2 separate regions of the Homo sapiens genome follow, and region 1 is linked to region 2. The links are contacts of gene promoters, found by promoter capture Hi-C in blood cells and fetal thymus (Javierre and others, 2016). All regions are on one chromosome and are shown on one strand. Each heading gives the region's core, a stretch centred on a gene start or on the middle of the fragment in contact. The rest is flanking DNA. Distances are from core to core; before and after follow the strand shown. Region 1 holds the start of MAML3 (mastermind like transcriptional coactivator 3). Region 2 holds the start of USP38 (ubiquitin specific peptidase 38).

Region 1 (7,022 bases), core at 839-3,338, 3.0 Mb after region 2:
CCAGCCTGGCCAACATGGTGAAACCCCGTCTCTACTAAAAATACAAAAATTAGCCAGGTGTGGTGGCGTGCACCTGTAATCCCAGCTACCCAGGAGGCTCAGCCAGGAGAATCACTGGAACCCGGGAGGCAGAGGTTGCAGTGAGCCAAGATGGCGCCACTGCACTCCAGCCTAGGCAACAGAGCAAGACTCTGTCTCAAAAAAAAAAAAAAAAAAAAGAATTAAACTACGGTGAAGAGAGAGCAAAGCGAATGCAGAGTCATAGCTTCCCCTCTGTGGCGAAGCCATGTGTTTCCTGAGTTAATAGAGATATTATTTAGTGAATATGTGAAAAAGATAAAGGCCACTTTGCTACCTCTTTTTCTAATTTCTTAAAATTCTCTACATATTTTCAGAATCTGAACGGGCTCTTTTGCTACAGACGTAGTCCAGTTAAATTTTCTGACTGAGACTTGAAGAAGGGCAGTTTGATACAGAAATTTGTATATTAACTAAATAGCCTTCAGAAAAAGTGTGGCAACTTCAATGAAATATACACTCTCTTAAGTTGGTTTTACTGCTTAGAAGTAGCCTCACACCGTATTAAATATTTTGCTGCCCATTTTGCCATATATCCAGTGAATATTAAAAATATCGTTCACTATATAGAACTGATTAATTGAAGAAAAATATAGCTTCTTATCGCTGACATTATGAGGTTAGAAATAGCATCCTGTGCTAATCTGCAATGCCAAGAAATGAAGATGGTTTAAATCAGATCTCATGACTAATGCATAAGATCCAAAGTTCTTTTATTCCTGGCTATTTTAGAAAACTGGGGTGTATTTTTACCCTAAAAACTAATTCTTAAGATTTATTGAAATAATACAAAATGACTTATAATTAACATCTCACAATCAAGATTTATAGTTTACTGATTATTAGAGAAATAATAATTTCTCCATCTTAATTTTTAAAAATATGTATATGCAATGGTTTAAGTCCATATTCAAGAATATTTGATCCTTAGTTGTTATTTTTGTTTTTAGATAATATCGGGAAAGATAATGTGCTTTAATAAAATGGAAAGTTTAGATTGATTTCTGCAGTTGCTAGTCCATTTTAATTGTACTTATTGTGAATTCATTGAAATGGAAAGAAATATATCCAGCAATAAAGTAGGCCTGTTATTTTTGCTTGTTTTTGTTTTGGTCATGACAAACTGTGAAATGCTGTGTTTTTTCTATAGTTCTAGTCTATGAAATCTGCAATCTTTCCACTTGATTTACGAAGGACCTTAATTACTGCTGTCATTAGCACCTAGTGTTCAAAACAGTCTGTTTAAATGTACTGTTAGTCTCACCTCCAAGTCCCTGCTTGCTTTATTTTTTTCCAAGGGTAAGTAAAACAATAATTGACTTAGTAACAACAATCATTATGTACAGTGAGTTAAATATTACACATTTTTGATGCCTATTTCTATTTATTTAGAATTTGGTATTTGTGTGTTCAGTCTGGCCTAGACTTGGAACAAGTGTCCGTAAGTAGCGCTGTTACTAGCGCAGACTTATTACCTGGGTTTTAAAAACAAGTCACTCATTTGCCTTTTTCTTTCCACATGGATAGGGATGACAGACAACTGCTGTAAAGCTTCAATGTTTCTGCCTGGTCATGCACAGTTCTGCAATATAATGCATAAATGTATAACAACAACTTGGGATCGCTTGATACTTTCCTTGGAATAAGGAAACCCTACCAGGCGCGTCCCCGCGCACGCGCGCGCGCATACACAGACACACACACTCACACACGCTCTCACGCACACACACAGGTCAAAAGTTGATTTATTTCTGAGATCCCCCCAGAATCTTTCTTCTCTCCGTCGCCGACGGCTCTGGGCTTCTCGGCGGGGCGGTAGTGTGGTTGGGGGCGTAGGAGGGGCGCCGGGCGCCGAGGCGACGGAGACGGGAGCCGGGTGCTGGTGCGTGCCGCGCCCGCTCCTGCCGGGTGAGAGTCCGGGCCGGGTTTTGCGCCGTGTCCGCGGGCCTGTCTCACGGCCTCCAGCCGCCGCCGCTGCCGTGTTTACTGAGCTCGCGCGTCCTGATATCACTCCGCTGGCATGGAGGAGGAGGAGGAGGTGGAGGAGCGAGAGGAGGAGGAGGAGGCGGCGGCGGCGGCGGCGGCGAGCAGTTGATCATTGTGATGGTGGCAGGAGCAGCGGCGGCAGCGGCAGCCCAGCCGAGCGTTAGGTGCTGCTCTCTGCGCGGCGTTTTGCAAAGGACTTCACCGATCTACTTTTGCAGTCGCCTCGGACTGTCCATGTGTTTACTTCCCCCAGCCCGAGGATTCGATATCTAGGTTCCTGTGAAATGCAACTGAGCAGCCAAAGTACTTTGAGAACACGGGGCGGCATAAACACCAAAACTTTTTTGTGGAAGGAAAATGCAATAAGCAAGCTTGCCGTTTTCCGATGCGGTGTGGAGTGAGTGTGTGTCGCGCGTGTCCGCACTGGAGGCATATGCTTGTGTGTGTACATGGGGTGTGTTTTTCGGTATGTAGGGAGAAAATGCTTGCCAACCACCGGAAATCTCCTGGAATTTATTAGAAAATAATGGATTATAAAAAGAAGGCAAGCAAGGAGCGGATCTCCCCTTGAGTTGCAACCCGATTTGCTGCTGGCTCAGTTTGTTGTGATTCTTTTTGTTGATAGGTGTCTGATGGTATTCCGATAACGTTCCCCCCTTTTCTTCCCCTTGAGCTTTTACAGTTTAAAAAAAGGAAACAAAAACCACCCCAAAATCTCCCCCCCCGTTTTTTTCGCCCCGTCGGGATCGCCGTTTCCATCCATGTGCTTGCGTCTCCCCCGCGTTCCACTTAAACTATTTTAATCCTTGGACCCAAGGAGGAGGCTGATAGGGGGGTGGATAAAAAAAGTTCTTCCAAAATAGTGTGCCCGGGGAGCAGGATGGGGGATTTCGCAGCCCCCGCTGCTGCCGCGAATGGCAGTAGTATTTGCATCAACAGTAGCCTGAACAGCAGCCTCGGCGGGGCCGGGATCGGTGTGAATAATACTCCCAATAGTACTCCCGCTGCTCCGAGTAGCAATCACCCGGCAGCCGGTGGATGCGGCGGCTCCGGGGGCCCCGGCGGCGGTTCGGCGGCCGTTCCCAAGCACAGCACCGTGGTGGAGCGGCTCCGCCAGCGCATCGAGGGCTGCCGTCGGCACCACGTCAACTGCGAGAACAGGTACCAGCAGGCTCAGGTGGAGCAGCTGGAGCTGGAGCGCCGGGACACCGTGAGCCTCTACCAGCGGACCCTGGAGCAGAGGGCCAAGAAATCGGGCGCCGGCACCGGCAAACAGCAGCACCCGAGCAAACCCCAGCAAGATGCGGAGGCTGCCTCGGCGGAGCAGAGGAACCACACGCTGATCATGGTGAGGGCGCACGGGCAGCGGGCTTGCGGCGCGCGTTGGGGGTGGTGGTGGTGGTGGGGGGCGCGTGGAGCTTCTTACATGGGGGTACAAGGGTCTGATTTGCACGGTGGGTGAGGTGGGCTGAAGCCTAAGGGTTAACGTCAACTTTTCTTAGGGAAAAAGCTGCCGTCGTCGCTACCTGTTAATCTGTCAGGGTTGTCAGATTTGGGGAGGAGGGGGCGAGAGGGGAGAAGCCAGTCACGACTGCGAGGGGCGGAGGGAGCCTAGAGGAGCGTCGGAGTGAGGTGCTGGAAAAGTTTCCCCCCTTCCCTTTCTTAAGATACCGATTTGAAAGAGTGAACCCCTGAGTTGAAACCTTGCTCCTCCTCTTCGCCGCTCCCCACCCCACCTCTAGCCGCGCCGCCTCGCCTCCCCAGACCCGTCCCCCTACGCCCACCCCTCTCAGCACATCCGCCGGGTGCGTGGAAATATTGATGCTGTCGCAGGTTCTGGGCGGGCACCAGGCCCTCAACCCCTAGGGGGGAAGCGGGGAAGGAGAGCCTCTCGCCTCCTCTCCCCAGCTCACCCCCTTTGGGCTGAGAAAGTCTGAGAGTTTTGTGAATGAACTTTGAAGTGGGTGAGAAACGAGCGAGGGTGGCTGCGCGCGGGGGTGCTCGCGGGAGCGCGCGCGGATGCGGGGCGCGGGTGCGCTCCGCTCTTTGCTCGCGACTCGGGGCTAGCCCGGCAGGTGGAGCGGCTGGGAGGGTTAAGAGGGGAGCGGCCTGGAGGGGGCGGGAGGGGAAAGCAATACCCAGGGTTTGCGCCAAGAGGCCCCACCACACAACTTCGCTTGGGATTCTTTCCTTTTTTCCTTTTAAACTTGCGTGCACGGAGTCTTTCTCCGCTTGGCGCCCCCTGCCCCGCTGCCCGCCAACTTTGGGGGCCTGCTTAATAAGCCCAGAGCAATGGAAGGTAGCAGGGAGGTAAAAGAGGCTTAAATGGCTGGGTGGGCGGGTTCGAGGTAGGATGAGCAGCCAATGGCTTAACTTCTCCAGGAGGAAGGGGCAGTTCCCACCCCCCAAGCCGGAGGCTAGAATCCTTTCTCTTATCTCCCCTCTCCGGTTCTTTTGCTTTCCTTTCTGGGTGAGGGGAGGCCGGAAGCTTGGGAAAGGTGTGTGCCCCCCCCCCCCGCACCGCGCCGCCCGGGTGCTGGGTGGGCCAGGCGACGGGAATCCTGGAGCGTGCCGGGGCCGCGCGCCTTCGCCTGTTTCCCGTGCAGACCGCCCAGCGATCGGCGGCGCAGAGCCCGGCAGGGGCGGCCCTCCCGTCGTGCGGTTTAGAAATCGCACACGTTCCCGGTCTGTGAGTCCCCGGCGCCGGGGTGGTGCCAGTGCTGCCGTGGGCTTTCGCCGGGGGCTCGGGCCGGCGCTCGGTGACAAAGAGTCGGCTTGGGGGAGGGGAGGCGACGCCGCAGTGCTCGCTCCCCACGTCCCCCCACCCCGCACGTGAAGAGGAACAATTTGTTTATCTTGGGCTTCAAGAATCCTTCCCTCCTCCCAGTTCTCCGGGGGCGCTCAACCCCTCCTCCCTCCCCTCCCAGGTCGGCGCGATCCTGCCCAGTCCCGCCGGCAGCACCTTCCCTCCTCCTCTTCCTCCTCCCCCTCCCCTTCCTCCTCCCTTCCTCCTCCTCCAGCCACTCTTGCCCGCCTTCTTCCTCCCTTTTGGAACGTGGCCGTGGGGGAGGGAGCGGGAGGCGCTTTGTCCGCCTCGCGGCCCAGCTCAGACCCCGGGGCCGCTGGGCTGGGAGGGGTGCTGCGCCCCGTGGCCCTGCCCGCTTCATCGCGGCTGTCCCCGCCCCGCCGCGCCCCCCATGCCCCCGCGTCCCTCCTCTCCGCTCCCCCTGCGGCTGAGCCTGCCCCGAGCGCGAAGAAGGGGCCGTCTCGGTTGGTTTTGAGGAAGAACGACAGTTCGAGTCGGGGGAGGTTCTCGCTTTACAAACAGGAAACCGAAAACCACTGACACACTGTAGTTTTTCTGATTGTAGCCGGAGGCGGGGCCGGTCCCGCATCTCGACTGTAGCTCCGGTCCCTTTCTCCAACCTATTTCTCTCCCAGCCCCCGCCCCCCTAGCGCCCTTCCACGGAGGAGGAGATTCACTTTGTGAACCTGAGACTGAGAATTTAAGAGGCACTGAAGGTTTCATGCCTGCCCACCCCGCGTCCTCTTTTCGTGTATTTGTACACCCCACGCGCATGGATTGCGGAGAAATGGGCTCCTTTCGGGAGGCTCCAAAATTCCCGTGCCACAGAATCTCTCACAACCTTTGGGGATCAAGGACTGCTGTGGCGTTTACCTCGCCAGCTGGGGGACCCTGGAACAAAAGCCAGTGCCGTTCCCAGTGCCGGGTCTCTGGACACGGCAAGATGAGTAGAGTTTGCGACCAGAAACTTTCGGTGTTTGGGTTGTGTTCTCTGGTTTCCGCCCTGGTGGAGGGAGGGCTCGGGTGCGCGCGCCTGGTTTGTGATACACTCGCAGGTGGAAGCAAGCCCAGCCTCCTGACCTTACTGGGAAGAAGACAGCAAGCCCAAGCCACAGCTTACTTTTGAAAATAGAAAGATAATGCTTGCTTCAATAGACAGAGACATCAGCTGTAGATTTCATAGTGAATCCCAGTTTAGCAAATTAGCAACAAATAGACTTGAAAGATGACTGCGTGAAAATAAAATTTTCTGTCATTTTATGACAATGATTTAGCCTGTTGATTAGACTTACGCACTAATAAATGCCAGGGCTGTGTACAGAATAGGAGTGTATTTTAGCTTCAGCTGTTTCACATGCATCTCTCACTGGTATGTGTGATGAGTGTGATGAATGTAATGTAAGCCTTAACTCTTAAGCAGAGTTGCAAGTAAATTCTGTGTACCAAAAAAAAAAAAAAAAAAGAAAGAAACATGCTCTACAAGTTATATTTCCTTTTAAAATAATTAGTTTAAAAGTTAACCTTGGCTTCTGAGAGTATTTTAACAGTCTGTATTGAGGTAAAATCTCAAAAATAGAGGTTGTAAAGAAAACGTTGCTCTTCATTTTCTTGAATTGACTGCAGGATTATAGTTGTACTCCAGTGAGGCACAGAACAATTAAATGTAGTTCTCAGATTGGGCGCTCTATTTGGAAAGCCCTAAAGAAAAACAATGATCACCCACAACCAAATAATAATAACGGTGATATAAAAATAAAGATGAATAGGATTCTTTACTGTTTCATTGGTATTGTTTACTTTCTAAGGACCAATATGTCCGAAGTACTAAATATCGATTAATTATCTTTCTGCCTCGCTTGGATTAAGAAGGCAGTCTAATGAGGGCTTTGCCTCTTTTGATTTGTTTTCCTATCTTACACATTTACAAGAATGGGCATGAAAAACAACAACAAAAAAATAGCAAACAAAAAGCAGAGTGGGTGAGGGGTAAAAAATTTTCCTTGGCTCCAGGCTGCCACAGAGGGGGCTGGGTTCTGTGTGAGTCCTCACCAGCCCTGTTGATAGAGCAGGTGGCACAGACCTGGGTTTGAAGCTGCACTACCTCAGGTATTAGGTCCGTTCTGAACATGTAGTCAAATGATCCCATCCCAAC
Region 2 (6,811 bases), core at 921-3,420:
AAACCAACTCAGATACTGCAAATACATCGTTTGTAATTCTTTCGTAAATATATTAAATTCATCAGAACACAGAACGTTTGTTAAAACTCCACCTTTACTTCTGGTTCTTAAGATAAGAAGAGGACACATCCCTCACAAGTTCAATTTGAACAGCCACACAGTCCCCACTGGTGTTATAAATGAAGGAGAATGCTTGTACCAAGTAGAGCGGAAATGAACATGATTTTGAATCTATTCAGACCTGAAAGGTCCAAGACAGAACAACGAAGGTAGAGGTACTGGTAAAATTCCTCGGCGAGAAAGCATTTTCTAGGCAAGTATCATGTGACCCTTCTCTGCTTTCTGAGAATGCAGTTCATGGGCACAAAAACAAATATTTAAATCCTCGTACTCTTCCTTCCCTCATTCTATCTGTATTCCTCCTTTGTCTACTAGATACTGTAGACAAAAAATGTCACTATTTAAAAACTTCATAGTTATCTGGGATAATCCAGTAATAAAACAAACTGCACAATCCATTAATTCAAAAATGAGGAAATACAAAAATGGGGGAAAAACTCATTACAAAATTAGAGACACGTACAATAAATACTATGGTAAACATCATGCTACCATTAGTCACTAATGAATGGAAGCTTTCTGCAGTAGCTGTCATCCTCAAAGCATTCCAAATAACTTGAGCAGAGGCTGGGTAATTAAGCAACTTGTTTAGTGCCAAAGGTCTTAGACCTGGACGTTCTCAACCTTTAAAATGGGAACGCTGCCTGTTTTTAAAGTACGATGTGACGTCCTGAATAAGGTAGTGAATGTGAATAAATTTGGGATGAGGTATTAGGATTTGCTCTCGCTTAAGAATGTTTTTAGGGCAGGAGGAAAACATGGTGTGAATGTGTGTGTGCAAGAGAGACATATACTGATTTTTTATGAGATATTCTGAAAGATAATGACCCTTACCTGTGGAAGAGATGCTTGCAAAAACTTCTTGCAGGGAAGGCAGTAGTGTGGCAGGCTCGGCCTTCCAGATGTTCTGCAGCAAGTTACTCACTTTTGTCACCTGGGAGACATATTCCCGCAGCTCTCTTTCCTGGGTGGACACGCACTGGAAATGGCCTATCGTTCGAACCAGCTGTTGACAGAACGTGATGGACAATTTCCCCTTGGGGATGCATTGCACAAAGTCGGTCAGAAGGTCGCTCAGTCGGGCACAGAGCTGCGGCTCCGGCCTCTCACACACCATCCGTAACACCTCTACCTGCAGGAGGCTAAAGAGATCCAGCACCGACGGACAGCTCATAATCAGCTTCAGGCCGTTGTGAATGTAGTCCAGGATGGCTACATCCTTCCTGTCCAGAGAGTGGTAGCCCTGATGAAGGAGGCCCAACACGAAGGTCTTGTTGAAGAAGGACTCGAACTCTGGCCGGTGGTATCGTGCGTAGGCCTCCAGCACCTGGTGCCCCACCTGCCGCTGGAAAGGGTCCTGGCCCTCCAGGATGAGCCGGGTCGTCAGGTCAAACATGGCCTCGCACTGCGCCTCGTCTAGCCAGTGCTCCGCCGATTCCACCACCTTCCGCACAATCACCCGCTTGAGGGGCAGGGGATGCGAGGAACTCACAAGGCCCTCCAGGATCTTGTCCATTGTCGCCACGCTGCAAGGCCAGGGCCAGGGGATAAGGAGCGGGTGGCGGCAGCCCCGAGGTGGGGCAGGAGAGCCCCGGGGCGGAGATGAACTTGGAGCGCCGCAGCAGCAGCGCGACGGGCCACGGCCACCGCCGCCTCAGCAGCCACATTTATGGCGCAGGGAGACCCATCCAAGCCGGGGCGGGAGCTAGCGAGCCTGGAGAGCCTAAGAACCGACACCTGCGGCTGGCCTAAGGCGCCAGAGGCCCGTACTCCGCCGCCGCCCCGGGCCCTCGATCCCACTCAGCATCAGCGCCGAGGGGCCTGTCGGGCCCCCCAGCGGCGTCGGCGGGAGCTCAGGGCCCGGGGCTGCTAGCCGGCGGGTGGAGGAAGCACGCCTCCGAGTTCCGGGTCAGGTGTGGGCGTCCAGTCTCCAGCAGGTCGTGAGAAGAAGCCGGTCCTGGGCTGAGTCAGGAGGCGCTGTCACGGAGAGTGCTGGGATCAGCCGGGGAGAAGAGACCGAAGCGACACCCTTTGACCCGGATTTTGAAGTGCCGGCAAACAGGAAGTGAAGGACCTAAGAACCTCCGGAAGGACCGCCCCTCCGCCCCTCTGCCCCTCCGCCCCTCCGCCTGTCCGCCTCTCTCCTTCTCCCTTGTTCCCTCTCTCCCTCCCTGCTCCCCCACCTCCCTCCCGAGTCGTAGACTCCCTTCCCCCCGGCGCTGGGAGTCTCCTTCCCGCCCCGCCGCGCAGGTGCGGCGACGGCCGCGTCACTGGAGAGTGTGTCGAGTCACAGGCGGTCTTCCGCGCGGAGCGTCCCCGGCGGACGCTGCGCAGATGGCTGCGACTGTAGGATTCTTGCCGGCTAGTCTTCGTCGGTTCCGCCTGCGTCAGGTTACTCGTGAAAACTCGAATAAGTGCTATCGATGTGAAATCCGAGGAAAAGAGCATTTGGGGGAAAAGTAAGGAAAACTCAAAACTCGGATTGAGAAGTCTGCCTTGGCTCATTAATCAAGAATTGCGCTTGCGCGCCTAAATGTGACTGCCTTTATCCTGCGATGTCGGTATTGAAGTAAGAGCAATACTGGCGGCGTACCTAGCATTTAGCGACCATCAGTATCAGTAGCAGGCCTCTAGCAAAGAACCAGTTAGTGAGCTTTGTACCATATCGAAAATTATAAGCCGTCCAAAAAAGTGTGAGAGTAAGGAAAATGGCAGATTAGAATCAAAATATTTTTATACCTGTGTCATACAAGGGTACTTTGAAAATAGAAAACCAGGTGGAAATACCACAAAACTTATTGTATATGTTGACACCGAAGATGGTTTACAATAGGGAAGAACAGGTGCAATCATGCTTGTTCTGTTTCATGCCAAATTCCGAAGATTCACAGTAAGAATTTAATCAGAGGTCTTTATATTGGAAAATATTGCCTAACTGTAGCCTGCTTCAGGCTTGGTTAATATAGTTGTGAAACTAGACATTAAGGCCCTGTAATACAGACAAAACTTTAAAGAAATAGGTCATTTAAAATGTCCCGTAGAAAAATGAACAAAATTCTGTTACTTCAGTTTGCTAAATAGTGTTTTGTTTTTTTACCAAGTTACAAACACGATTACACTAATATATTCACACGTCGATTATGGTAGTCTTAAGAAGAGCAGTTTAGAGGAGACAGGAGCTTGAGTAAAAGGGAACTTAAGACCAAGTTGACTCGTAGGAAGATACGGAAGATAAAAGAGAATTGAGGTAATTAATCTATCAGTCATGCTAGAGACAGGAATGATTTTTCCAATAGGAGGTGAAGGTACACAGATGTTTGTCTTTACTGGGAATAATGCCACAGTGGAAGACAAAGGTAATATAGAAAATAAAATATTAAGAAGGAATTAAGTATTAAGAAGGATCGTGGATTTGAGGTGGAGTGGAGGAAATTTGGAATTAATCTTTGTGCTAAGAAACTAACAGGACGAATGAAGATTGCTGAATAGTACCAGCGAAGTGATTATTCCAAAGTAGACAAGAAAAAAATATTGGTAAATTTAAAACTTGACAGATTACTTTGAATTGTCTATAACATTTTCTTCTTTCTGTTAATATTAGGTCTTGAAAAATTGAATATTACAAAATAAGATGTCTGAGAGAACATAGTGCTATTAGTCCATATAAATTACATGTCATAATATTAGACTTCCAAAAGCACCATGACTCTGTATTTTTAAAATACCTCTTGAATGATAGATGCATGAAATGAAATACTAGGTTTTTATACCAAGATATTCAACGCTTATTTCCTTCTTTTGCCACTGGTTAAAAAATGTATGTAATATGCTCTTTTATAAGATTTCAATTGAAAGTGGCCAACTTTAAATTTATTTTATAGCATAACTAAAAGTTCTATAATAATACCATGTTCCTTTTTAACATTTTAAAATATTTTCAGAAGTCTGTGGAAGATTTTTTTGCAGTGAATCATGCCACTAATCATTGGATTAGTGGGTGCTATTGTAATGGGCTTTAAAATTTCATATAAAGATTTAGTCTAAGGCCTCAATTGCCAACTACATGGTTTTACAAATATGTTAGATCTGAGAATGGAAGCTGAGTGATGGGGATGAAAGAGAAAAAGCACAGGATAAGGAGTGATTGTTTATTTAGCAACCTCTGTGTGCCTGGAACTCAATATATTACACTTTATCCTTAGTTCTCAAAACGGGGTTTTGGAAATAGATGTTAATAGCTACATTTTATAGATAAGGTATTGAAGCCAAAGGAGGTTAAAAAAAATAATCAAGTCTGACTCTAGAGTCTCTATTATTTCCATCATACTATTAGATGAAAAGTGTGTGTATGTGTTTATGTTTGTGATAAGCAAAGAGAAAAGGCAGTTCCAAAAGCAGTGGTTAGAGTTGGCCAACTGCAATAACATTATTGTGAGGTTAGTTTTCTCTTAGGAAATTTATATCACCTAATAGAATCAAAAGCAAACTGATTGTATAGATTAGAGAGGACTGTGATAAATAAACCATCATATGAAGTAATTACAAATAATCCCTGACTTTATGAAATTTATATTCATATGTTTTTTAAGTTGTAAAGAAAAAAAGACTGTAAAGAAACACACCAACCACTTTGATATGGTTTTTGTTTTAATGACTTAAAATGGACATCAAGCTAATCTTACGACACTATTTCATTTAATTTTTTTCACAGTGCAAAGTGAAAGCAAGTTTATTAAGAAAGTAAAGGAATAAAAGACAATTAAAAATTAAAAATATACCATTGGCTACTTCATAGGCAGAGCAGCCTCACTACCCTATTTTAAATCTTCCAGTGCTTCTCCTCTTAAAATTCAAATGGCTACTGTTGACTTTAAGGCCCTCCATCAAGTTGCTCTTGTGTCTTTTCCTACTGTTCTCATTTATTATATGTTTACAGCCTTTTTCTGTTCTCTAGAATCTAAGCTTCATGAGGTCAAAAAGAACCCCTTAATTTTATTAGTTACTTCTATATCTAGCAGTTAGAACACTAGGGTAAACAATCTATCAATTTTTTTTGTCTGTGAGATGAAGTCTCTCACTCTGTTGCCCAGGCTGGAGTGCAGTGGTGTGATCTCAGCTCACTGCAGTCTCAGCTCACTGCAATCTCCACTTCCTGGGTTCAAGCAATTCTTCTTCCTCAGCCTCCTGAGTAGCTGGGATTATAGGCACCCACCACCACACCTGGCTAATTTTTGTATTTTTAGTAGAGATGGGGTTTCACCATGTTGGCCAGGCTGGTCTTGAACTCCTGACACAAATGATCCTCCCATCTCAGCATCCCAAGGTGCTGGGATTACGTGAGCCACCATGCCCAGTTCAATCTAACTATTTTTTGAATGAATGAACTTTTAAAAAATGAAATGAAAAACATGGTTTAGAAAAAGTCGTAAGGAGTCTACACAGTAATTTCTAGAACTAAAAAACAAACTCAGCAGGGTTTCAGAATATAAGATAATAGACAAAAATCAGTTGTACTTTTATGTACTAGCAATGAACACATGGAAACCAAAATTAAAAATATACCATTGATAATTGCTCAAAATAAAAACTATGTAGGTGTAAATCTGACAGTGGATGTACAGGACTCATGCTGAAAACAACAAAACACTGATGAAAGAAATCGAAGATCTAAATAAATGACCATATACATGGATTGGAGGACTCACCATAGTGTAGATGTTAATGATCTCTAAATCGATATGCAGGTTTAATACAATTCCTATTAAAACTCCAGGCAGGTTTTTTTTTTCTTCTTCATATACAGGCAAGATTATTCTAAAATGTATTTGGAAAAACAAATCAGAGTAGCTTCAACAATTCTGAAAAGGAGGAATTAAGTGAGAGGGATCATTTTACCTGTGTTTGTTCTTATGCTGCTAATAAAGACGTATCTGAGACTGGGTAATTTATAAAGGAAAGGTTTATAAACACAGTTCAGCATGGCTGGGGAGGCCTCAGGAAACTTAAAATCATGGTGGAAGGGGAAGCAAACATATCCTTTCACATGGCAGCAGGAAGGAGAAGAACGAGAGCTGAGCTAAGGGGGAACCCTGTTATAAAATCATCAGATCTCGTGAGAACTTATATCACGAGAACAGGAAGGGGGAACCTGCCCCCATGATTCAATTATATCCACCTGTTTCTTCCTTCAACACGTGGGGATTATGGGCATTGCAATTCAAGATAAGATTTGGGTAGGGACAGAGCCAAACCATATCACTACCCAAAAATAATACTCATTGTATGCCAGGGTAATTAAGACAGTATGGTAATGGCAGAGAGACACATAGATCAGTGAAATGGGCAACAATAACCTAGACCCACACAAATACACCAAACTGATTTTTGACAGAGATTCAAAAGCCATTCAGTGAAGGAAGGATGGTGTTTTCAACAAATGGTGCTGGAGTAACTGGATGTTCATAGGCAAAAAAGAAATGAGAAAATTCTATAACTGGGAGAAAACAACAGTACCACTGGACTGTACTGCTACAGGGTTTCACAGAAGCCCCAAACTTATTTGGTCAAATCTTAGTCCTGGAGGAATTCCAACCTTCCAGGGGAACCCAGTTGTTACAATATGTAGATGAACTTTTAATATCTGGCAAAAGGAAGGCCGAGTGATCAGAAACCACCATAATCTTGCCTTATT

What was found. Contacts are between HindIII fragments. The CHiCAGO score rates a contact against its expected background, and 5 or more counts as called.
Region 1: a contact is called between the fragment with the promoter of MAML3 here and the fragment with the promoter of USP38 in region 2, in 1 of 17 cell types (non-activated CD4 T cells). The highest score is 7.1, in non-activated CD4 T cells.

What each region holds. Positions count from the first base shown.
Region 1 is chr4:140,149,250-140,156,271 of GRCh38, reverse strand. It overlaps MAML3 (mastermind like transcriptional coactivator 3), which reads left to right and starts at 2,088. Exons shown (of 5, transcript NM_018717.5): 1 at 2,088-3,412. The coding sequence starts at 2,945. RefSeq lists enhancers at 4,527-5,369, 5,370-6,214. The HindIII fragment of the contact is 806 bases long and covers 1,632-2,437 here.
Region 2 is chr4:143,180,276-143,187,086 of GRCh38, reverse strand. USP38 (ubiquitin specific peptidase 38) reads right to left here and starts at 2,170. Exons shown (of 10, transcript NM_032557.6): 1 at 955-2,170. The coding sequence starts at 1,636. USP38-DT (USP38 divergent transcript) reads left to right here and starts at 2,226. Exons shown (of 4, transcript NR_185979.1): 1 at 2,226-2,579. RefSeq lists silencers at 1,779-2,028, 2,249-2,298 and enhancers at 1,350-2,234, 2,235-3,120. The HindIII fragment of the contact is 4,447 bases long and covers 638-5,084 here.